7 separate regions of the Homo sapiens genome follow, and all the other regions are linked to region 5. Evidence: promoter capture Hi-C in 16 types of primary human blood cells and fetal thymus (Javierre and others, 2016). All regions are on one chromosome and are shown on one strand. Each heading gives the region's core, a stretch centred on a gene start or on the middle of the fragment in contact. The rest is flanking DNA. Distances are from core to core; before and after follow the strand shown. Region 1 overlaps TMEM169 (transmembrane protein 169). Region 2 overlaps XRCC5 (X-ray repair cross complementing 5). Region 3 overlaps LANCL1 (LanC like glutathione S-transferase 1). Region 4 overlaps XRCC5 (X-ray repair cross complementing 5). Region 5 holds the start of SPAG16 (sperm associated antigen 16). Region 6 overlaps XRCC5 (X-ray repair cross complementing 5). Region 7 overlaps XRCC5 (X-ray repair cross complementing 5).

What was found. Contacts are between HindIII fragments. The CHiCAGO score rates a contact against its expected background, and 5 or more counts as called.
Region 1: a fragment that was not itself captured here is called in contact with the fragment with the promoter of SPAG16 in region 5 in 2 of 17 cell types (total CD8 T cells and naive CD8 T cells); the score reaches 6.7 in total CD8 T cells.
Region 2: a contact is called between a fragment that was not itself captured here and the fragment with the promoter of SPAG16 in region 5, in 3 of 17 cell types (naive CD8 T cells, total CD4 T cells and naive CD4 T cells). The highest score is 12.9, in naive CD8 T cells.
Region 3: a fragment that was not itself captured here is called in contact with the fragment with the promoter of SPAG16 in region 5 in 1 of 17 cell types (naive CD8 T cells); the score reaches 6.7 in naive CD8 T cells.
Region 4: a contact is called between a fragment that was not itself captured here and the fragment with the promoter of SPAG16 in region 5, in 3 of 17 cell types (naive CD8 T cells, naive CD4 T cells and activated CD4 T cells). The highest score is 8.0, in naive CD8 T cells.
Region 6: a contact is called between a fragment that was not itself captured here and the fragment with the promoter of SPAG16 in region 5, in 2 of 17 cell types (total CD8 T cells and total CD4 T cells). The highest score is 6.3, in total CD8 T cells.
Region 7: a contact is called between a fragment that was not itself captured here and the fragment with the promoter of SPAG16 in region 5, in 6 of 17 cell types (naive CD4 T cells, total CD8 T cells, non-activated CD4 T cells and 3 more). The highest score is 15.5, in naive CD4 T cells.

What each region holds. Positions count from the first base shown.
Region 1 is chr2:216,095,142-216,098,372 of GRCh38, forward strand. TMEM169 (transmembrane protein 169) reads left to right here. Exons shown (of 3, transcript NM_001142311.2): 2 at 697-1,093. The coding sequence starts at 823. Among named protein-coding and RNA genes, the nearest start is that of XRCC5, 13 kb to the right of the region's middle. The HindIII fragment of the contact is 5,460 bases long and covers 1-3,231 here.
Region 2 is chr2:216,147,840-216,151,170 of GRCh38, forward strand. XRCC5 (X-ray repair cross complementing 5) reads left to right here. Exons shown (of 21, transcript NM_021141.4): 14 at 244-437. Among named protein-coding and RNA genes, the nearest start is that of XRCC5, 40 kb to the left of the region's middle. The HindIII fragment of the contact is 151 bases long and covers 1,292-1,442 here.
Region 3 is chr2:210,471,488-210,474,616 of GRCh38, forward strand. LANCL1 (LanC like glutathione S-transferase 1) reads right to left here. Exons shown (of 10, transcript NM_006055.3): 3 at 472-589. Among named protein-coding and RNA genes, the nearest start is that of LANCL1, 3.7 kb to the right of the region's middle. The HindIII fragment of the contact is 4,098 bases long and covers 1-3,129 here.
Region 4 is chr2:216,186,703-216,190,073 of GRCh38, forward strand. The region is part of intron 16 of XRCC5 (X-ray repair cross complementing 5); the gene reads left to right. Among named protein-coding and RNA genes, the nearest start is that of LINC01963, 29 kb to the right of the region's middle. The HindIII fragment of the contact is 938 bases long and covers 1,532-2,469 here.
Region 5 is chr2:213,282,599-213,285,889 of GRCh38, forward strand. It overlaps SPAG16 (sperm associated antigen 16), which reads left to right and starts at 1,866. Exons shown (of 16, transcript NM_024532.5): 1 at 1,866-2,021. The coding sequence starts at 1,886. SPAG16-DT (SPAG16 divergent transcript) reads right to left here and starts at 1,611. Exons shown (of 3, transcript NR_161186.1): 1 at 1,435-1,611. RefSeq lists enhancers at 1,899-2,028, 2,069-2,118, 2,189-2,268. The HindIII fragment of the contact is 3,357 bases long and covers 1-3,285 here.
Region 6 is chr2:216,202,930-216,206,157 of GRCh38, forward strand. It overlaps XRCC5 (X-ray repair cross complementing 5), which reads left to right. Exons shown (of 21, transcript NM_021141.4): 20 at 1,393-1,467; 21 at 2,259-3,228. The coding sequence ends at 2,273. Among named protein-coding and RNA genes, the nearest start is that of LINC01963, 12 kb to the right of the region's middle. The HindIII fragment of the contact is 419 bases long and covers 1,592-2,010 here.
Region 7 is chr2:216,120,069-216,123,497 of GRCh38, forward strand. It overlaps XRCC5 (X-ray repair cross complementing 5), which reads left to right. Exons shown (of 21, transcript NM_021141.4): 6 at 1,994-2,185. Among named protein-coding and RNA genes, the nearest start is that of XRCC5, 12 kb to the left of the region's middle. The HindIII fragment of the contact is 1,493 bases long and covers 1,001-2,493 here.

The sequences.
Region 1 (3,231 bases), core at 548-3,047, 2.8 Mb after region 5:
CACCCAGGCTGGAGTGCAGTGGTACAATCTCAGCTCACCAGGCTCAAGCAATTTTCCTGCCTCAGCCTCCTAAGTAGCTGGGATTACAGGCACCCACCACTACAACCAGCTAATTTTTGTATTTTTAGTAGAGATGGGGTTTTGCCATGTTGGCCAGGCTGGTCTCAAACTCCTGACCTCAGGTGATCCACCCGCCTCGGCCTCTCAAAGTGCTGGGATTATATGCGTGAACCACTGTGCCCAGCCTACCTGTGGTTCTTAACTCTCACCTACTGGTAAGGCTTCCTCACCCAACTTCCTTATACTCTGCATGCTCCAACTAGAGGCTGATTTATACACAAAAATCGGTAACACAAGCAGACTATGCTAACTACTTATGTATATAAAATAAAGAAACAATAATTGTTGACTTTCATATGAATAAGGAAAATGCAAATTATGACAACAATGAGATATAGTATTCCTTCACATGGGTTTTGCCAAATATTATATGTTTGTATAAATGACAAAAATATTACTGTAGCAAAAGTTTATTCACTGTCTATTATAAGAGATTTAGATTGCATTCCCAAAATAAAGTATTGCAAGAAGTAAAGGGAGAGGAAGGCTTCTGCTAAGTTGAGGATCGTTTCCCACATTCCTGTCCATCTCACCCCATTTGCTTCCTGTTGATGGCTTTGCTTTCCTATCTTTCAGGTGGAATGCATCCTTGGGACATCTTTGCATAGCCCCATCTAGGAAGAAGTTCTGTGATGTGTGAACTGTGAGTTTACTCAAACAAGTCCAACTCTTTATAAGACATAGGTAGACGTCAGGTCTGGAATGGAAGAGCCAACAGCAGTAGAAGGCCAGGTCCAGCTTCCAAGCCCCCACCAGGGCTCTCTCAGGAAGGCTGTGGCTGCTGCCCTGGCGCTGGATGGGGAATCCACAATGGGGCACAGGAAAAAGAAGAGGAAAGAGTCACGCCCAGAATCCATCATCATCTACCGCTCAGACAATGAGAAAACAGATGAGGAGCCCGGAGAATCAGAAGGTGGAGATCAGCCTAAAGAGGAGGAGGGAGATGATTTCCTAGACTATCCTGTGGATGATGGTAAGTCTCTCTAGCCCACTTGTTTAAAGCCATGGGAAGGAAACCAAAAGGGCATCTTCCAGAACAGACAGGCATATGCTCACTGTCCTATTTCTTCTTGGTGATACATTTCTTCTTGCAATATTACCACCTTTTATTTATTTATTTTGAGACAGAGTCTTGTTCTGTCACCCAGGCTGGAGTGCAGTGGCATGATGTCGCCTCACTGCAACTTCCACCTTCTGGGTTCAAGTGACTTTCCTGCCTCAGCCTCCTGAGTAGCTGGGACTACAGGCATGTGCCACCATGCCGGGCTAGTTTTTGTATTTTTAGTAGAGACTGGGTTTCACCATGTTGTCCAGGTTGGTCTCGAACTCCTGGCCTCAAGTGATCCACCTGCCTCAGCCTCCCAAAGTGCTGGGATTATAGGCATGAGCCACTGACCTGGTGCAATATTACAGTCTTCATTCAACAAATGGTCAGTATTTACTGAGCACCTATTACATTTTTTTCTAGATGATACAGAAATCTCCACCCTTTCAGAATTCCTAATGAAATGGAAGAGGCTGATTTATACGCAAAAACTGGTAACACAAGCAGACTATGCTAACTACTTAATGTATGTAAAATAAACAATAATTGTTGACTTTCATATGAATAAAGAAAATTATGAGAAAATTTGCCAGAAGAAAATCATATGGCAAATTATGACAACAATGAGATATAGTATTCCTTCACATGTAGGCTTGCCAAAAATTGGGTAAAATGTGATTACATCAATATGAGCAAATGGATATACTTCATGCACCTTAGTGAAAGTGGAAGCCGCTTCAACCACTTTGTGGAGGAAACTTGTCAACGTTTATTAAATATTTAGTAAAATTCACAGTTCAAAACATGCATACCTCATGACCCAGAAATTCTCAATATCTACTCCATGAAACTTATGCCCATGTTATCCTTGTATAAGGAGGCATATATAAGAACATTTGTTGAAGCTAATGCAACCATGATGTGTTTGTATTAAGAATTATTGTGGAGGCTGGGCACGGTGGCTCACACCTATAATCCCAGCACTTTGTGAGGCCAAGGCAGGCAGATCACGTGGGGTCAGGACTTTGAGACCAACAACAGGAGTTTGAGACTGGCCAACATGGTGAAACCCCGTCTCTACTAAAAATACAAAAATTAGCAGGGTGTGCTGGGGCATGCCTGAGGTCCCAGCTACTTCAAAGGCCGAGGCACAAGAATTGCTTTAACCTGGGAGGTGGAGAATCTGTGTTTCTAGAATGCAGAGGTTGCAGCAAGTCGAAATCCTGCCACTGCACTCCAGCCTGGGTGACAGAGCAAGACAACATCTCGAAAAAATAATAATAATTATTATTATTGTGCAGCCGTAGAGAGATGAGGCAGATCTATTTGTGTAGATGGATAGATCTCTAAGACATATGCTCACAGTGAACAAGATAAGCAATTTCTCTGCTCTCCTGCAGTTGACCTTCAGGGAAAGACAGATAGTGAACAAGTCAACAAATAAAAGATACTTTCAGGTAGTAGTATGAGTTCTAAAGATGACAAAACCATGCTGATGGGAAGATGAGTACTGGTGGAGGGTGGAAGGTGGTGGGGGAGAGACTGCATGGTTGTGAAAGGCTTCTCTGAGGAGGTGACATTTGAATTGATCCAAATGACATGAGGGAGCCACCATGAAAAGTTCTAGGGCAGAGTTTTTGGAGGAGGTGGAACAGCAAGGGCAAAGCCTCTGAGGTGAGAGCAGCTTTGGCCCATTTATGGAAAGGAGTTATTTCAGTGTAGGGAGTGTAGGAGATAAGAGGGAGGATGGTGAGAGGAGGACAGGAAGGTAGGCAGAGGCTGGATCATGGTGGCCCTTGCAGGTCTCGGTAAAGAGTTTGATATTTGTTTCAAGTGCAAGAGGAAGTCAATGGAGGACTTTTAAGCAAAGAGACATCATCTTGTTTATATTTGTAAAAGATCACTCTGGCTTCTCTATAAAGAATGAATTATAAGGGTTAAGACTGGATGCTGATGGGAGACTATTGTGTCCCTGCAGCCTCAGTAGCACTAATGGAGAAGTTCGGGTGATAGCAGGAGAAAGCTGGAGAAGAGAAGCTGGATTCAGGATGCAATCTGAACTTGCT
Region 2 (3,331 bases), core at 117-2,616, 2.9 Mb after region 5:
CCAGGAGGTCCAGAGCAGAAGATACTGTTGCTAGGCTTGGATCTATTTTTACAATTGGTTTTAGGTATTGACCAATATCCTGCCAACAAAGGTGGTTCTAGGTGAATCCTCTTGATTGTTTTTTACATGTGGTATGAATCACTTAGCCCTCCCACACTAAAGATGGAGGATCCCTGATCAGAAAATATAAAGAAGCCATATATGTCTCCATCTGTGTTTTAAAATCCTTACTTTTTCCAACAGTGTCTGCTGCACAGAGCTTTACATCCCCGGGAGCCTCTACCCCCAATTCAGCAGCATATTTGGAATATGCTGAATCCTCCCGCTGAGGTGACAACAAAAAGTCAGATTCCTCTCTCTAAAATAAAGACCCTTTTTCCTCTGATTGAAGCCAAGAAAAAGGATCAAGTGACTGCTCAGGAAATTTTCCAAGACAAGTAAGTACTTGGTATAGTTGCATTTAACATTGGGGTACATAAGAGTTGTGGTCATTTTAGAGTGGCTCTGGAAGTGTCACATAGGGGTCTATGGAATTTAAAAGGTGAGAGGAAGAAGCCTTTTGCTATTTGGCCCTTATATTGAAATATTGATTTCTTATATCTGTCTGCTGTGATCATATTTTATCCTTGCTGTTCACTTTGGATTTAGAGCTACCTTCTGGGCTGATGACTTTTTGATCAGCATCAGATTCTTGGTGAATTATATATAATGTATAATTCAGATAAGTTTCTGAATATCTAAGGCTAAATGTCACCCTTTTTAAAGTAAAGTACTGAGAATGAGTGTGTTGAAGATCATAGGTTTTTTGGGTTGGGAGGAGATTAGATGTTGGGGATGTCAATGAGATTTTTGGAGGAAAAGTGGGAACAAGAGTGAAAAACTATCAATTCTTCAGCCGTTCTATTAGTGTATCAGTGATGTATTTGGTTGTGCTATTGGGGAGGTGTTTGTAGTTTTAAGTATTGCAAAATGCTTTTCATATACACTTAAATCAAGCTTACAACTGGCTATTAAGTTTTTTCCCTCTTCTGTTCACAATCTGTGTCAGCTTCCATTCAAAACAAAACAAAAATAAAACAAGAAGAAATTGTTGTTGCTTATCCAGAATTATTTGAGTATGTAAAATTGATTTTTACCAGGTTTAGGTCAACCAGTTATTGGTGACTTTTTTTTCTCAAGCTGGAATAATCTATACATTTCTTTTGGCTGTATTTTGAAATCTGATTTTAAACCATGAATCTTTTCCCCTTTTTTATTTGATTTTTCTCTCCACAACTATCTTTATTGACAAAGCTTCTTATTTATAAATACCCCAGTGGAGAAGTATTGAGTAATTTCCGGAAGTCTTCACAGGTTTCTATAAATCATTGATTTAGAGAATTACTGTCTAAATTGAATAGAAAGTTGTGCACATTCTGTGACTTTCTAAAGGTTAACATCCAAGCTTTGTCAGAATTGAAAAAAAAAATCATGTACTTGGTTCCGCCGCACCAACTGCCCGCCCCCCATAAGACCATCTCTCAAGGAAATTGATAGATTGTTTCTTGATAGATTTTATGATGTGCATTTCTTACACATCCTGGAGAGGTTTTCATTTCTGTTTAGTCTATCGTTCTACACAAGAAGACTGTCCCTAAAAATTCACTTTCCCCCTGCTATCCTTATCTACCTTCTGGATTTGTATTTTAAAACAGTTCAATAAAAGTCTGCAGCCTTTTCTTTCTATGACACCTTGCTGAAGTCTCACTGCAATCACAGGGCTATTCTCTCTCTGTGTGTTAAATCTCCAGTCCGTGATCTTGATTACCTTCTGGTGTTGTGGGAAAGAAATGGGCCATTTTCTGCTCTTCCCTTTGATTAAAATGTAAATTAGCTAGTTAAAAAAGCACACCACCCAGACCCAGAAGGATGCAGTTCTGTCGTTTGATCCCTGCTATGATCACACCTTTGGCTCTGGTCCTGCTGGGCACTCTTCTGGAAGCTTGGGTGTGCTGAGCTTCTTGTTCTTTGCTCCCATAATGGCTCGCAGCATAGCTAAGTTAATCTTGCAGGGGCCTGAGAAGTATCTTACTCACACACGCTTGCTCACGCTCCTATTCTCTCTCTCTTCTGAGAAAGCTTAGTTTTTAAGAATTGTGGAAATGATTCATTTAGCAAATATTGAGTACCACCTGTATTCAAGAAGAATGGTTCAGTCCTTTCTACAAGGTTCTAAAACCCCTCAATTTTGATGATAAAGCTCCAGTCAGTTCTAGAGGTAGTTTTTCCAAGGAAAGAAAAAATTGCCAACAATTCGCAATGTTTTTGTATATATTCATCATCTCTGGATCCAGGGTACATATTTCTAGTGGAGGGGAGAGGGGCTAAGATCAGGAGTGGACAAATGTCTGTTCAGGAAGTTTAATCATCTTAAGAGCTGGGAATCATTCCAGTTTTTTCACTTGATATGATTTTGGTGAAATAATTTTACCTTTATGAGATTTTCTTCACCTAAAGAAAAATCTCAAGAGATACTATAACAATGAACAAAGATATTAAAGCACTTTGAGCAACTGACATCCTTCACTTAACGACAGGGATACATTCTGAGAACCGTGTCATTAGGCAATTTCGTTGTGCGAATGTCACAGAGTGTACTTACACGAGCCCACATGGTAGAATCTACTACACATCTAGGCTATGTGGTATGGCCTTTTGTCCTCAAGGTACAAACCCGTGCAGTGTGTTACTATACTGAATACTGTAGGCATTTGTAACAAAGAGGTATTTGCATATATAAACGTATCTAATGATAGATGCCTAGGGAGGCTGAGGTGGGCAGATAACCGAGGTCAGGAGTTCGAGACAGTCTGGCCAACATTTTTAGTAGAGAATCCCCATCTCTACTAAAAATACAAAAATGAACTGGGCGTGGTGGTGTGTGCCTATAGTCCCAGCTACTTGTGAGGCTGAGACAGGAGAATCTCTTGAACCTGGGAGGCAGAGGTTGCAGTGAGCTGAGATCATGCCACTGCACTCCAGCCTGGGCAACAGAGCGAGACTCCATCTTAATTAAAAAAGAAAAATAAAAGAAAACGTAATGCTTTGCGCTATGATGTCATGACAGCCCTGATGTCACAAGGCGATAAGAATTTTTCAGTTTCATTATAATCTTATGAGACCACCATTGTATATGTGGCTCATCATTGACCAAAACGTCATTCCGTGGCCCAGGAATGTATTTGGAGGGAAGGCAATAGTCAAAACCTAAAGCAATAATAGTATCATTATCTATAAAAACATTGAACCTTTGAGAAGATCTGATATTTGTCTTGGACTTGTTGAATACCTA
Region 3 (3,129 bases), core at 213-2,712, 2.8 Mb before region 5:
CATGGAAGTAATACTTTACCCTGTATGGATTCCTGTATGGATTCCTGTTACGGGTTAACTTTTTAAAACATGCTTCTGGACATATTTTATTCCTGAGATCAATCCTCATTACCTCCGCTTCAGGCATTGTATTTTGGAACTCTTCCCAATTCTTCCCACTGAAATTACATCTGCAAATTAACTATGTAATATTGAAAATCAATTTTTCTCCTCACAAGTATAGCAGCCATCCAAATGTCAGGCATGAATTACATGAATATGCTTACCATGCCCTAAATTCAGGGCACTATTAAAAACCCAGAAGATACCATGGTTGGTTGGGTTGAGGGCACAGCACTCTCCCAGAAGCAATTACTCATATGCAGATGCAGGAAGCATTTAAGGGTGTACCATTCAGACAGACAGCTCTCGGAAAAATGCTCTGGCTCTTAAGCACAATGCTTATGCCAGCTCACAGTCAGCACTTCATACCTGCCCAGCCAGTGTAACCGGTGCCATCCCGAGGGTCTGCTGATTTCAGGCCTCTCTCCATTTGCTGAAGAAGCTCCCGAATCTTATTGGTCAAGCGTTGTGAGAACTCAGGAGTCAGCTAGATATTAAAGGAAAACAAGTATCAAAATAATGTGGGTCACCCAGCTTGCTGGACTATAAGCTATCAAAGACAGAAAGGTATTTCTTTTCCACTTAGGACATATTTTTCCACCTGGAAGACTAAACAATTTATTTTCTATTCTTAAACAACAACATCACATTAACAAAATTTATAAAATACCGTTGTAACTTATACATGTTTTAAATAAAATTTTTAGTTAAATACTAAAACAGACTGCCAATGATAAACTGGCTCACAGTAATTTTCCACCTAATAGTAATCGTCTATTATTTAAACCAATATTATAATAAAGTCTTTTTATTAAATTAAGCACAAATCAGATGTTTGGTGCTTTCAAACTACTGGATTTTTAGTATTCAAGCTGCAGCAAGGTAAATTCCCTAAAGAAACATCTAATTGCTCTTATTTAAAAAAAAGGATTTAAAAAAAATGAAGTAGCCAAAGAAAAGCAAAACAAATTCATGTATATCAAGAGCCTTAAGCAGAATAGAAAGAATATCAAACTTAGCATCATAAACCCACGTCCAGCACAGTGTCTGGCAGAGAATACGGGCTTCACAAATGTTTCTCAATGAATGAGCCTGTCTACATCCTTACCCGCTATTAGCTGATCTTGCTCAACTCATAACTTCTTTATGTTTCAAATACCTCCATAAAGTCAGGATAATAATAACTGCCACGCCAATTTCAAAAGGTACTTTGGGGATTAAATGAGATAGTGTATCACAAGTCTTTCTCATTCAGGGATGTAAATGTTGACATTTTTACTAATTCTTTAGCAGATCAAGGGTCTAAGGCAAGTAATAGTTTAGATATGGATTGAAAATACACTAAGGCTGGGGCTGTGGGGTTAGTACCACCCATATGAAGGTCCACAGATGCTGTGCAAACAGTGAGGCTCACACAATCATTACGTTATTCTTCTTAAAGGCAAATGAAAAATAATTTTAAACTTCTGCACACACTGAATCAGTGTCTTAAAAAGTCACTGAAGGCCGGGCACAGTGGCTAATGCCTGTAATCCTAGCATTTTGGGAGGCCGAGGTGGGCGGATAACCTGAGGTTAGGAGTTCGAGACCAGTCTGACCAACATGGAGAAACCCCATCTCTACTAAAAATACAAAATTAGTCGGGCATGGTGGTGAACGCCTGTAATCCCAGCTATTCGGAAGCCTGAGGCAGGAGAATTCCTTGAACCTGGGAGATGGAGGTTGTGGTGAGCCGAGATCGTGCCACTGCACTCCAGCCTGGGCAACAAGAGCGAAACTCCATCTCAAACAACAACAACAACAACAACAAAAACCCAAAAAACTCACTTTATTGTCTCCCTCAATAATTTTAAGAACTTGCTGTGATTCTAAGACTTGAATTTCACATAGTAATTAAAATTTCAGAACAATGTGGGGGAAAGTTACAAGGGTATAAACATTTTATTTTACCATGTAAGGATTGTAGAAATAAACCTAACCACTCACATCAGAATCTCATTTTTAAAAATGAGATAAAATCTTAACACTGAAAACAGCAAGAAGGCAGTATCAGAATTAACAACAACAACAATAGTTTAAGGATACGTTAAGATTCACTTCGGAGGAGCATCCTTGATAAGGCAAATCAGACTTTCAACCACATCTGGATTATTTAATCTAAAGCACCACTATGATCCCTTATTTCACTCTTTAGAAGAAACGACGTTGTTTGACAGACACACTCCCATTATTTAACAATTTCTGCAAAGAGGTTAAGATTTCAACTAGACTTGAAAATACATTTAGTAGGATAAAATATACTTCAATGTTAATACAAAAGGCCTATAAATCTCAGCTAGATAGAAGAGTGCATCTATATTGAGAACACGTCATCTACTGTATATAGATCATATATAATTTATCATCTTGCCTGGCCTTCAAGAGATCAAGAATAATGAGAATCTCTCAGCCTTATGAAGGGAAGTTACTTTCTGTTTGGCACATTCTGCATTTAATAAAGGTGACCTCTGTGAGAATATTGATTGCTTGTGGTACACCACCAAATCATTCAAACTCTAGCTATAATCTGAAGTCTCTAAAAGTCCTTTTTTCTTTTCTATTTTTTTCTGACAGATGCCAGAAAACAGACCAGTTCCTTACTGAAATCTTGTGTTAAGAAATTAAGGAGGACAGATCTCCAGGGTTTGATCCTCCGTGTTCAACATTACACAATTTTAGAACTGGTATGCTACTTCCTTTCTAGGACCTGTCCAAAAACTACGTTAGGCAATAAACTACATTATTACTCTTGGGTCAGGGTTTAAATTTGTGAATTTTTCCCCTTAGAAACAAAGGGTTAAATTTGGCCCGACATGGTGGCTCACACCTGTAATCCCGGCACTTTGGGAGGCTGAGATGGGTGGATCACTTGAGGTCAGGAGTTCGACACCAGCCTGGCCAACATGGTGAAACCCTGCCTCTACTAAAAATACAAAAAAAAAAAAAAATTAGCCAGGTGCGGTGGTGTGCACCTGTAATCCCAGCTAC
Region 4 (3,371 bases), core at 751-3,250, 2.9 Mb after region 5:
TTCGAAAAGCATTTTGGTGAATTATAATTGGGGCTGTGATTTACTGAGTTTGAAGACTGATAAGCCATTCCTCAGCCCTGTAATTAATGTAGAAGCAGAGAAAAGCACCCTGATGATCAGCATTTCCTTTATGTGGGGCAGGGGAGTCAAAAGCATATTCCAGCCAAATATTATAGAATATTATTTTTTCAGCCATTTCTGCATTTTACTTTTATTAAAAATGGCAGGGAAATGTGAAGTGCCACAAAACTTTGGAAAGGAAGTCTCTTGTTTACATCCCTTTTGATACTCAGTATATTCAAGCGTCATCCATCACAGCTATTCCCTGGTGTTAAATGGTTCGTTATAGTCAGTGAACCACAAAAGTAGTCTGGGTAGAGGGACAGAATTTAGAATCATGGACCAGATTTACAAGCCACGTAACTGAGTATTCCTAGAAGGCCAAAATCTGGTTGTTTGTATTCTTTGGGTTTATTGGAAGTTTGGATATGTTTATCCATCTGTGTTTCTGAACCCTCTGGAGGAAAGAGCACAACAGTCTAACATGTAAATAAGAAAAACTAAATCCACATAGGCCCACAGATACATTAGGACTTCATTTTTTTTTTTACAAAGAAACTGGGTATTGAGACTCCTGCTACTTCCTTTTACAAAGAATTTATGGTAGACTGGACTGCCTTCTTTCCTGTATCGTTGCAAATGGATTGTTGGCTTGGGTATTTATTTTTGTTTCTTTTGAATATTTTTCTCTGTAAGATAGCAACTGTGTGTGTGTGTGTGTGTGTGTGTGTGTGTGTGTGTGTGTGTGTGTGTGTGTGTTCTATCATATTTCAGGATAAAATGAGTCAGGAAGCTGGTTGTTTTGGTTTTTTGTTTTGCTTTGTTTTTTCGCAAAGCAATTTAGTACCTGTGTAGTTGTTTCATGGGCTCCCAGCTCTTAGGATTCCCTACGTTTCTATCCTTAATTGCCTATGCTCTTTTTACTCTTTTCCGTGTAGTCTTTATGCAGTAGTTTGGACACAGCAGACAACTCTTTCCTTTAAATAATCTCTTCTCTTAGTATCTGTGATGCCATGAACTCCTGACACACACACACACACACACACACACACACACACACTCTCTCTCTCTCTCTCTCTCTCTCTCTCTCTCTCTCTCTCCCCGTCTCCCTGTCTCTCCCTCTCTCTCTCTCTGACTAATCCTTCTTAGCCTCCTTCTTCAGCTCCCTTTCCACTATCCAACCGCTAAAATTTCTTCTTTCTTCTACACTTTCTAAGGAGCCACGCTGTACCCCTACCTCAGGACTCTCACACACACTTTCTCTTCTTGGAACTCCCTTTCCTCCAGCCATTTGCTGTCTAATCCTCACTCTTTTTTCTTCCCCTATTTCTGTCCATGTATGAGGCCATTTGCTTTTCTCCAAACACAGCTTGTGCTTTCTTCTTCATACTTAGGCTAATTGTGTTTCCTGCTGTGTAATTGCCAAATTCTGTTTTTCATTGCCTAGCTAAAAAGCCATGTTGATTTGTGAAGCTTTCTGTAATCACCAAAGATTTTTTAAAAATTCAAACCAATTAATATATTTCCTTAAAACTCATAGCCCTCTTCACATTATTTCCCAGTGTTAATTTTATGTATATGCATTATATTCCCTATTCAACTGCAAACTCCTCAAAGGCAAGGGCCTTGTCTTCAACTTAATTCTGTCTCCCACAGAACATAACATAGTATCTTCTACATAGTAGTTGCACAATAAGTATATACTATCAAACAAAGAGAAACATTTATATTATAGCTTCCTAAGATTTCCTATTCTCATTTCAAAAGAAATGGAGAATTTAGAGTCTCTAGGATTATTGCCCTTGGCCTGTAAAGGTTTTTATTTGTGCCCAAATATGTAACCTCGAGTGAACTTTGTATCAGATGATCTGGGAAAGTACACCGCTTTCTGTTATCAAACATTTCTGTTACTTTGCTTTTCAAGCTGAAAAGGGGAGATAACTTCTGTTTGCTTTGAGCTTTTGTTGATGGTTTTCTGCTCTGCCTACTAATCAGGGTTGTATTATTTACCTTGTTTAAAAAGGTTCATCTGAACATTCTCTCTCTATTTTGAATTGTAATTGGATATTAATTCACTGCTGCGGGATACGTTGGTAAAGATTTTTGAAATTGCAGGGAAATGTTTCTTTAATCCCTCAAGTTTGTTAAGTGCTTTCTTATAATGGAGATCATAATCTCCGAGTTGGTAGAAGGGATGAAACGGTTACTGGGGATATTTTTCCCTTGTTAGAAAATTGCTGTATTAAAAAATACTTCATCCAGTTTTTTAATCCTTTCCACATGCTGTATGGTCCTTAGGAAATAAGTAGATTCTTAGCACCGATTTCATGTTTTTAATAAGGAAGGCATTGAGTAATGTTCAGGTCACTGTGATTCACAGAGTTAGTGGCCTGGGGCCTTTATTGGTAAAGCTTGAAAGTAGTTTTCTTTAGCATTGTGCATACACAGGTAGCTGCTAGAATGCTCACAGGAGGCTGTGATTTGGGGAAACAGGCAGTCATAGAATATCTTGAACATTCAGCATAAATTGCCAAACAGCCACAGCTAGTGAATGGTTTCAGGGGACAAGGGAGAGGAGCCTTTAGGCATGATTACCCACATCTCCCTGATTTGTTCTTCCACACACAGATCTTAAGGGTCAGTTTTGATCTGCACAGCATTAAGTTTCCTCATGACTTTTAGATTTCCTTTTTCCTCTGCTTTTTATTCATACTGAAGAATTTTTTGTTTCTTTGTAAGGTGTAATCTACTTTGGAAATGATAACACTATGAATGCATTTTCTCTTTCTGTAGCATTTATGACATTGCTTGCTGACAGTTACTGTTTATTAAGTATTTGTGGCTTTTGGAGTAGTGAGCAATAGGGAGAATATTCAGGTCCAGCTAAGGGCATAAGGTAGATAGCAATGATTTCTCATTCGAAAGGGATATTTTGTTAAGACTAGGGCTGATCTTTTCTAATTTAACCTTGGATTGGTAGAAGATGGGGTGTCCCTGGCTCATTATTTTTCACTGCCCAGCACTGTTCGACAATTATCCTGAGTAGAATTAGGGGAGGGACTAGAGGATCTGTTTTCTGTGAATACAATAGGAAAGGCAGTTTTGAATTATCCAAATGGCCCCTAAATTCTGGGGGAAAATAAAATAACAACAACAGCAGTTTTAAAAATAACTACAACCTAGGTTCTGACATCCCAAAAAGGAATATTTCAACTATAATTCTCAGCATTTTAGAAATTAATTTCTTGACAAATATCAATAGGTATCATTCAGACTTTGCAAATACAGAGTTTTGAAATCAGAATTTTGCA
Region 5 (3,291 bases), core at 616-3,115:
TTGCATTTAATGAGTACTCAGGAAATGTCTGATGTGAGAAGTCAAGGACAAAGAGTAGGGTAGTAAAAGAATAGGTACCAGGAATGAATTACCCGACTATTATATCTGTGACCCTTGATTATTCTAAAAAATAAAACAATATCAAACACATTTAATAGAAATAACAGCTAACATTTCTTAGTGTCTTCTATGTTCCCAGTAAGTTCTTAATGCTTTTTGTTGCTTTACCCCTTGCAACAGCACTTTGAGGTAGGTAATATTGTTGTCTTTGTTCTACAAATGATGAAACTGGGGCCTAGAGGCATTAAGTAGTAGTTTGCCCAATGTGTCATAGCTAGTAAGTGATGGAAGCAGGCTCTGAAAGCTGTCTCTCTGGCTCTGACACACGTACTCTCAAACACCTCCTTAGGAAGTTACTGCTACCTTTTGGTAATAAATGGGAGCTTTTATAGGATCACTGGCTTCCAGTTTTCACCAAGAAATGTAGAATGAAAAATAATACCATTTGCCCTAGCAATCCCATTACTGGGTATATACCCAAAGAAACAGAAATTGTTCTACCATAAAAACACATGTACATGCGTGTTCATTGATATTCATGATAAAGACATGGATTCAACCTAAATGCCCATCAACGGACTGGATAAAGAAAATGTGGTACACATATACCATGGAATACTATGCAGCCACAGAAGAATGAGATCATGTCCTCTCAGGGACATGAATGCAGCTGGAGGCCATTATCCTTAGCAAACTAATGCAGGAACAGAAAACCAAATACTGCATGTTCTTAGTTGTAAGTGGGAGCTAAATAATGAGAACAAATGGACACAAAGAAGGAACAACAGACACTGGGGCCTACTTGAGGAGGAGAGTGGGAGGAGGGAGAAGATCAGAAAAAATAACTATTGGGTACTACACTTAGTACCTGGGTGACGAAATAAGTTATATACCAAACCCCTGCGACATGAGCTTACCTGCACTTGTACCCCTGAACCTAAAATAAAAGTTAAGGGAAAAAAAAATATTTGCAAAGAAAAGGGCCTTGAATTTGCTTCTGATACATACGCGATATAACCTGAGGAAGATCCTCTCAGCAATAAGACTATACATGATGGGGCAAGTGTCAACTGCATACATTTGTCAGGACCAAATTTGTAGCTCATAATTTTTATGCAACTGTTTTTACCTTGGCGAGAATCAATGCTACAAATACTATTCCAAGTCTTAGTATATGGAACCAAACTCAAAACAGATGTCCAGCTAAATGCATTAAAGATCACAAGAAAGGAATTGACAAAGCTGAACACCATAGTTCTTCATTGCTAAGCATCTGAGGAGCGTCTGGTAGCTCCCCTGGGTCAGTCTTTCTATTATGATTTCTAGAACTTTATTTTTTCATTTTTTAAAAAATTCCAGGTGTTGAGAACTCACCTTTTCTAGTAGTTTTCCCTGGGAACACTTGGGGATCTACAAACATCTGAAATTGGAGGATGCTAATGGGCAAGAATCAAGAGAAAGGTAATTCAGAGACGACAACGAAGTGGGAAAGAAATTACAGGGTCAAAGCGAAAGAAAACCAAGCTGCTTGGGTAGGAAGGTGCAATGCAAGCCAATTGTTTACTGTATCTTGTCCGCTCCCAGAGCTGCGCCCGAGCTCTCGCGTTAACTAGGCAACATCGTTGCCACGGTAACTGGGAGGCGCGGGAGGGCGACAGCTCCCTGGACTCCCGGTAACCCTTACGTGCCCGGGGCTGGTCCGTGGGGCGGGGTGAGAGATGCCGGAATCTCGCGAGAGCTCCCGGGGGCCGTTGGGTAGCGTCTTCGCTGTTGCCCTTAGGGACGGCTGTGGGCCTGCTGGGGGTGGGGGCCCGAAGCGCCAGAGATGGCTGCTCAGCGAGGGATGCCCAGCTCCGCCGTGAGGGTCCTGGAAGAGGCGTTGGGCATGGGTTTGACGGCAGCCGGGGACGCGAGGGACACGGCGGACGCGGTGGCGGCTGAGGGCGCCTACTACCTGGAACGTATCCTTCCCGTGGAGGCGCGGCCCGCTGCGCTGGCGGGTAATGGGTGTTGGGACGAAGGCGAGGGCCTCCCACTGGCGGCGCCTTTTGAGCCTTGGGGCCACTCCGGAGGAGCCTCTGTTGGACTTCAAGGTGCTGTTTTTGCCACCACAGTCTTCCTGAGAGCCACTCACTGAATTTCTCGCCCTTAGTAGCCCAGGGTGTCCTGTACCTGTTAGAAGAGTTGGGAGACCTTCCAAGGCCTCATACTTAGTAACCACTCAGTACATTTTGGATGGAGGGTTGCTTTTTATGTTAAGACAGCACAACAAATTGCTTCAACCCTCCTTTCAAATAATGGGTTTCCTAAATAAGCCCTCAATCTTTCAGAAAGCCGTCCCAATAAATTCAACGGAGGAACGTTAGGAGACTAGGGAAAGACCTCTGCCATTGGACTTTAAGGAGCTGAAGCTCAGAATACCCAACCCACGATCCTGTTCGATGGTCCAGTTAATGCTTAAATGCTTAGTTTTGATAGCATTATCTTCCTGAGTAGTTCCAAGTTTGACTACTTAATAATAAATACTAATAGTATAGTTGCTTTTTTTTCTTGAGCAAATAAATAATGATCTGGTGAGCTACACAGCTCAGAGATATTAGGAATAAAGCAGATGGTGATTAGCGATTTTTATCGGAAGTACCAGAAAAATTGAATAACAATGTGTGGATAATTAGGTCCACTATTTCTTGTGTAAGGCTTTAGAACTTCTTTCCTCTAGTTATATAGATTAATTCCTACTAGGGAGACGGGGAGGGTTCATGAGAAAAAGACATGTAACTCCTTTATTCAGGGAGGTAAGAAAGAGATGATTATCTGTTCAGTTCTTAAAGATACCAAGGAAACTCCAAAATCTGCCAAATCTTATTTGTTTGTCCAACTGTAATCCTCTCCAGGTTTAATTCAAGATTTCAGAAATCCAGCAATGATTCATTTCGTGAGCTTTGACAAGCCGATTAACCTGTCCTGACTCAGGCTCAGTACACATCCACACTACAGAGAGCTTTGAAGAATTTAGCTGAAAGATTAAAGAAAATATGTAGTATTTTATTGGGTGCAAAAACGACTTTTACAGGAATAGAAATTTGAATCGCTTGAAATGAATTTGAAAGAAATATATGGGTGCTTTAGTGTCATAAATGAGGTTTTATACTGTTTTCGTAGATGTAACAGGCAGTCTTTTCCAGTGATATTCCTCTTTAACAACGATTTTCATAATTCTTCCTAAGCTTA
Region 6 (3,228 bases), core at 551-3,050, 2.9 Mb after region 5:
TTGCCACATGCAGCCTCATATTTCATGGTTGACTTTGGTTTGACTTTTTAAAGAGACATATTTTAGTTTATTTATAGGTCTTAGGTTTCAGAGGTCATGATTGTGTCCATTGTACCATAAAAGTAACAGGAATGTAGAGAATGGCAGCTCTTACCATTTTTTCATGTTGAGAGTGAGGAAAGTATAATTATACTTTTTCCTCTTGGGTGGAAGCAACTACAGGAGAGCATAAGTGGGCTGGAAGGCTCTCTCACCGCGTGCCTGCTCCATGCACTCTCAGCCTGAAGAATGCCAGAATGCCTCTAGGGGCCAGTCAGTTGTGGTACCATAACTGATTCTCTATTTACTGTTTCTGGCCCCCAAAGGAAAAGTAGAAGTGCCCCACTTTCCACTGCCCTCTCTAAAACACTCACTCCTACAGGCAGGCATGCTACCAGAAAATCACCTTCTCGTGTTAGGATAGATAGGCATTGCTAGATAGATATGCATTGCTAGAACCCAGCTCTTAGAGGCAGCTGCCACATGCCTTGAAGGAAAAGGCTCCCCACTGCTATCCCTTGGAGGGACAGGATGGAAAAAGAGTGTTCAGATAATTTTCAAGGGCACTCACCTCACTACCCTTTTAAAATCTGAGTGTCATTCCTAGATCCTCACAGACTTCACTTCCTGGACTTTGCTGTATTACTATGTATCTGCCTTTCAGAAGCTCCAGATCTAGAACAGTGATGCTGAATGGTTTTCTCATCCATTTCTCATCTGCCTGTTTTCAAACAATTTCTAACACAAATTGAAAGATTTCCATAAAAGGAATCAAACAACCTTCCAAGCTCACTCATTTTTGCATTTCACGTTTCTTATGAGAAGTCCCCCTTTTACTGCTTTTGTCCACAGTGGAATTTAAGAGTAGATTATTCTAAGCTTTTTTTTTTTTTTTTTCCTGATTCTTCATCATTCAACTTGAGATTATTCTAATCTTGATTTGATTCTCATGCTCCTTTCAAAAGAGCATACTAGTTTGGGGTGGTTGGTTATTTTCTTAACCTTAGCAAGCCAGCTTATTTCCTATGGAAGCAGAACTGGAAACAGCAGATGTCCACCATGCTTATACAGGACACTACACACTGTCTCGACAAGCCATGTTCTTTCCTCCCTCTTCGTGAGCACTTTCTCTGGTGATGAGTTAGTATGGACTACTTGAACCTCAAAACTGGGCCTCTCACCCAAAGCCAAATGAAGTAGCGTATGCCAGGATGATGTTTCTTTTGGGCCGTTGGCAGTGAGACTGCTAAGCAGGCTGCCTTAGGTTTTGCTGTGGCAATGCTAGCAGATTGTTCCCTCTTTCAAAGGGGCAAAAATATCATTTTGGTATGATAACTGACTTTCTATTTACAGTTTCTGGCCCCCAAAGACAAACCAAGTGGAGACACAGCAGCTGTATTTGAAGAAGGTGGTGATGTGGACGATTTAGTAAGTACTTTTAATATGCACCTGGTGTTCTATGATTGAAGTCACCTGAGCTGTAAATACAGCCACAAAGGCTGATTATCTTACACTTGTTGCTTATTTGTGTTTTAATTTCCAATACACCAGAAGCTTCCTACACCATTATATATTGCCATTATAAATTCAATCAGATAGGTAATTTCATAATAGAAATTCCTGTGTTTCATGGTGTCGGCTATATTGTTCATTCAGATTAATCCTCTCCCTTGAAGGGCTGAAAAAGAGCTAGGGAGGCTATTCCATTAGTAGCAAAATGTTGTAATTCACTGAAATTGCTGTTAACCAAAAATAAGTAATACAACATGCAGTTTGTGTGGGTTGACAAATGAAACAGCCCTTAAAAGGGCTACTTCTTAAATGTTCTCAATTAACTTAATGTAAACAAAATAGACCGATAGGCATTTGAGGATTTCTGGACCCCATTACACCATGTTGTTGATGTCTGGGAAGCTGTGTAGTAAATGTCTTTTGTATCTATCCTTAATGTTTGGAAACTTCCCGCCTTTAAGCTTCATATGACAACTGACCAACAAACACTACGTACTATGATGTCAATCTTTTTTAGAGACATTCTCATTACTAAAATGAGTGGATACTTGAATGTTTAACTCCTAAAATAATGAGCGGTGAATAAATGAGCAAGTACATGCATGCCTTCCAATGTAGAGTCATTTTCATTAAACCCTCTCTCACCAGAGAAGCAGTGGTATGAAATTGGCCTGATTCCTTTCTAAGTGTGTTGTTCTTGTTCACAGTTGGACATGATATAGGTCGTGGATGTATGGGGAATCTAAGAGAGCTGCCATCGCTGTGATGCTGGGAGTTCTAACAAAACAAGTTGGATGCGGCCATTCAAGGGGAGCCAAAATCTCAAGAAATTCCCAGCAGGTTACCTGGAGGCGGATCATCTAATTCTCTGTGGAATGAATACACACATATATATTACAAGGGATAATTTAGACCCCATACAAGTTTATAAAGAGTCATTGTTATTTTCTGGTTGGTGTATTATTTTTTCTGTGGTCTTACTGATCTTTGTATATTACATACATGCTTTGAAGTTTCTGGAAAGTAGATCTTTTCTTGACCTAGTATATCAGTGACAGTTGCAGCCCTTGTGATGTGATTAGTGTCTCATGTGGAACCATGGCATGGTTATTGATGAGTTTCTTAACCCTTTCCAGAGTCCTCCTTTGCCTGATCCTCCAACAGCTGTCACAACTTGTGTTGAGCAAGCAGTAGCATTTGCTTCCTCCCAACAAGCAGCTGGGTTAGGAAAACCATGGGTAAGGACGGACTCACTTCTCTTTTTAGTTGAGGCCTTCTAGTTACCACATTACTCTGCCTCTGTATATAGGTGGTTTTCTTTAAGTGGGGTGGGAAGGGGAGCACAATTTCCCTTCATACTCCTTTTAAGCAGTGAGTTATGGTGGTGGTCTCATGAAGAAAAGACCTTTTGGCCCAATCTCTGCCATATCAGTGAACCTTTAGAAACTCAAAAACTGAGAAATTTACTACAGTAGTTAGAATTATATCACTTCACTGTTCTCTACTTGCAAGCCTCAAAGAGAGAAAGTTTCGTTATATTAAAACACTTAGGTAACTTTTCGGTCTTTCCCATTTCTACCTAAGTCAGCTTTCATCTTTGTGGATGGTGTCTCCTTTACTAAATAAGAAAATAACAAAGCCCTTATTCTCTTTTTTTCTTGTCCTCATTCTTGCCTT
Region 7 (3,429 bases), core at 497-2,996, 2.8 Mb after region 5:
AGTCTTCTCTTAAGACTACAGAGCGACATCTCCTTTCTGTACGACTGTGGAAAAAGAGTTCAGAATAACCCATCAAACCAATACTTGTTAAGATGGTACTTCAGAGAAATTAAGTGCTTTTAAGTGACACTTCTTACTGAGTTGAGGTTTTTCTCAGTACTTCAGAAGCCCAGCACAGCTTCTGGTCCTTTTTCATAATCTCAGGATGCCTTTACATGTTAGAAGCAGACTGCATTTCAGTGAATGTCATTCGAAAGAGCTACTCTTTTTTTCCATGAGCAATACAGAAAAGTGCAGAAGAGGAAGCATAGCCTTTGCTTCTATTTGCTTTTTATTTGGTTGTATTTTTTTCTTGGTAATATGCTTTCTTCCTGTGCTACAAACCTCCAGCATACAAAGTAGAGTTCATAGTTTTACTGTTTGGTGTATTCCATGTACAGCTGATTGTTGTAATTGGACTAAAAAAATACCAGCAGCTCAGAGAAGCCCTGTGTTCTGTTTTTAATTTATTTTTAATTTTTTTTTTTAGAAACGTCTTCTGTAGTGGCATAGTTATAGCTCACTGCAGCCTAAAACTCTTGGGTTCAAGTGAACCTCCTACCGGAGCCTTCTGTATAGCTGAGACTATAGATGCATGTTACCACACCCAGCAGTTTTTAGTTTTTCTTGGTTGTTGTTTGTTTTTGAGATGGAGTCTCGCACTGTTGCCCAGGCTGGAGTGCAGTGGTGCAATCTCGGCTCACTGCAACCTCCGCCTCCCAGGCTCAAGCAGTTCTCCTATCTCAGCCTCCCTAGTAGCTGGGATTTCAGGTGTGTGCCACCACGCCCGGCTAATATTTGTATTTTTAGTAGAGATGGGGTTTTACCATGTTGGCCAGGCTGGTCTTGAACTCCGGACCTCAAGTGATCCACCTGCCTCGCCCTCCCAAAGTGCTGGGATTACAGGCGTGAGCCACTGTGCCTGGCACAGTTTTTAGTTTCTTCTACTGACTACTGAGGAAGCTTATTTCTGATCTAACGCAGAATAGACAGAACAGTTATTATTTCTTTTTCCAGGATAACTTCCTTTCTCTTCACTTTTACGACATTTGTCCTTTTCTGGTTATTGCTTTGAAAACAGGAGTAACCTGATGCAAACCCTGTGTCTCACACTTTCCTCCCTGGAAACTTTTTACCTGATAAATGCAGGACATGCAAATTACATCATGCTGTATTTGCTAAGTATATGAAGAAAAATTGTAAACAGCCTTATTTTAAGTGTAGCAAATAAAATGAGAAATCACCTTAAAAACAAATTTATTTCTCACAGTTCTGGAGGCCGGGAAGTCCAAGATCACAGCACTAACAGATTTGGTGTCTGCTGAGAGATCTTTGCTCTCAAGATGGTGCCTTATTGCTGTGTCATCCCATGTCAAAAGGGCTAACACTGTTCTCACGTGGTGGAAGGACATAAAAGGCAAAAATGGCAAAAAGCCTCTCCCTTCAACCATTTTTTTTAAGGTCGCTAATTCCATTTATGAGTTCCCCACCCTCAGGACTTCATTACCTCCTAAAGGGCCTCTGTCTTAATAGTATCATATTGGTGATTAGGTTTCAAAATAATGATTTTGGGGGACACGTGTAGACCATTACAGTGTGGAAGAGGCCAGTCGGAGAGAGTGAAGCCAGCATAAAGGCAAATGAAGGTAAAATAGAGACAGAGAGAGTAATCCTTGCCACAGTTGAGACCCTGGGTCTGGACTTCCTAAGGCCTTGTGCCACCCTGCCCTTTCAGTTACTTGGTTATGTAGTAGCCAGTGATTTTCCCCTTTTACAAACCAAAGAGGTTTCAGTCACTTGAAACTGGGAGAATATTGGCTAAGGTAGGTAAGAGTCGTTTGACAGATGAGAAATTTGAAACTTGAAAAGGTTGACTGATGTGCTCATTTTCTCATAGCTGATGAGTTACAGTTACAGGATTAGAACACTAACTACTGTTGATCTTTCTTAATAGCTTGCCTTTCTCACTTGGCAAGGAAGATGGAAGTGGGGACAGAGGAGATGGCCCCTTTCGCTTAGGTGGCCATGGGCCTTCCTTTCCACTAAAAGGAATTACCGAACAGCAAAAAGAAGGTCTTGAGATAGTGAAAATGGTGATGATATCTTTAGAAGGTGAAGATGGGTTGGATGAAATTTATTCATTCAGGTAAGAATTGAAAACATTGATGGGAATTTTTAATTGTACCCACGTAAATTTCTCTTTTGATTAGAGGTCTCCCAAATGTTTCCTTTTTCTGGGCCACTCTCTAATTAGTCATTGCTTAATATTCTGAGTTTTATTAAAGAAATAGTACACCCACCCTTAATCACCCTTTTTAAAGTTTGTGTTCTTGGCACATGTTTCTCATTTATTTCCAGGACCTGTGTCAGTGAAGTTCAGGAATATATAGATACCATGAGAAATTAACAAGTCAAATTGCAAAAGATGAAATAGTAGATTTCTTCATTATGCCAAGCTTGGGATACATTTTTTGGGCCCTTTTTTTTTTACACATCTACAAAAAACATTATTAATTATAGAAAGTGGTCTCAGATCTGAGATAGTCAGTATCTTCTTATCATCCTATTAAGGTTTTAGAAAGTAGCATACTATGGTATAGTGATTTTTTTTTTAAACTTTTGATCACAAAGCAGTTTGATTGAGTGAAAAAAAAAAAAACCTGCAATGTAAAGAGTTCATAGCCTACTTACTTTACGTGGGCGTTGGAAAGGCAAAATGATTTAAGAAAAGTGAATTCCTTGAAGTACCGTATAACAATAAAGCAAACTGCTTTTTCAACCATCCAGCTAGAGACTATGGAAGAGACCATCTCCTTTATCCATCTTATTCTTGGTTGGAATTGGACATACATGCATTTTGAGCAAAGAACCTAAGAAGAATCGGTGGCATCTAGAATAGTGTGTGTCCTATGGGGTTCAATTTGGTAAAAGTGGCAATAGAGTACTTTACATAGCAGTATGGCTTGGGTGGTTCAAATTCTCAGGGGTAATACTGCTTGATATTCTTGAATTATTTCCAGCTTATCAGTCTGTACACAAAATACTGGCTGTTTAAGCACATTGAAGTAGTGATTGAACAACTAGAATTTTTTTAAGTAGCTACAGTGTATATCTCCTTAATATTTTTTCTAAACGACCATTTTTAATATTTCTGATGAGCTATAATTGACAAAAATTATGTTCTGATTTTCTAAATACAGACAGCCTTGAAAAATGATAGGTAAATTTAGGAAACAGAATTGCCCACGGGATTGCCCTAGGAATCAGTGAGGAATCCTGTGAGGTGAAGTTTCTTGGCGTAATGTGTTCTTGTCACAATATTTACAGATATGTGTTCCTAAGTTGTTTCTCTTTCAAATTTTGGAATAAATGCCTTAAGCTAAACATATT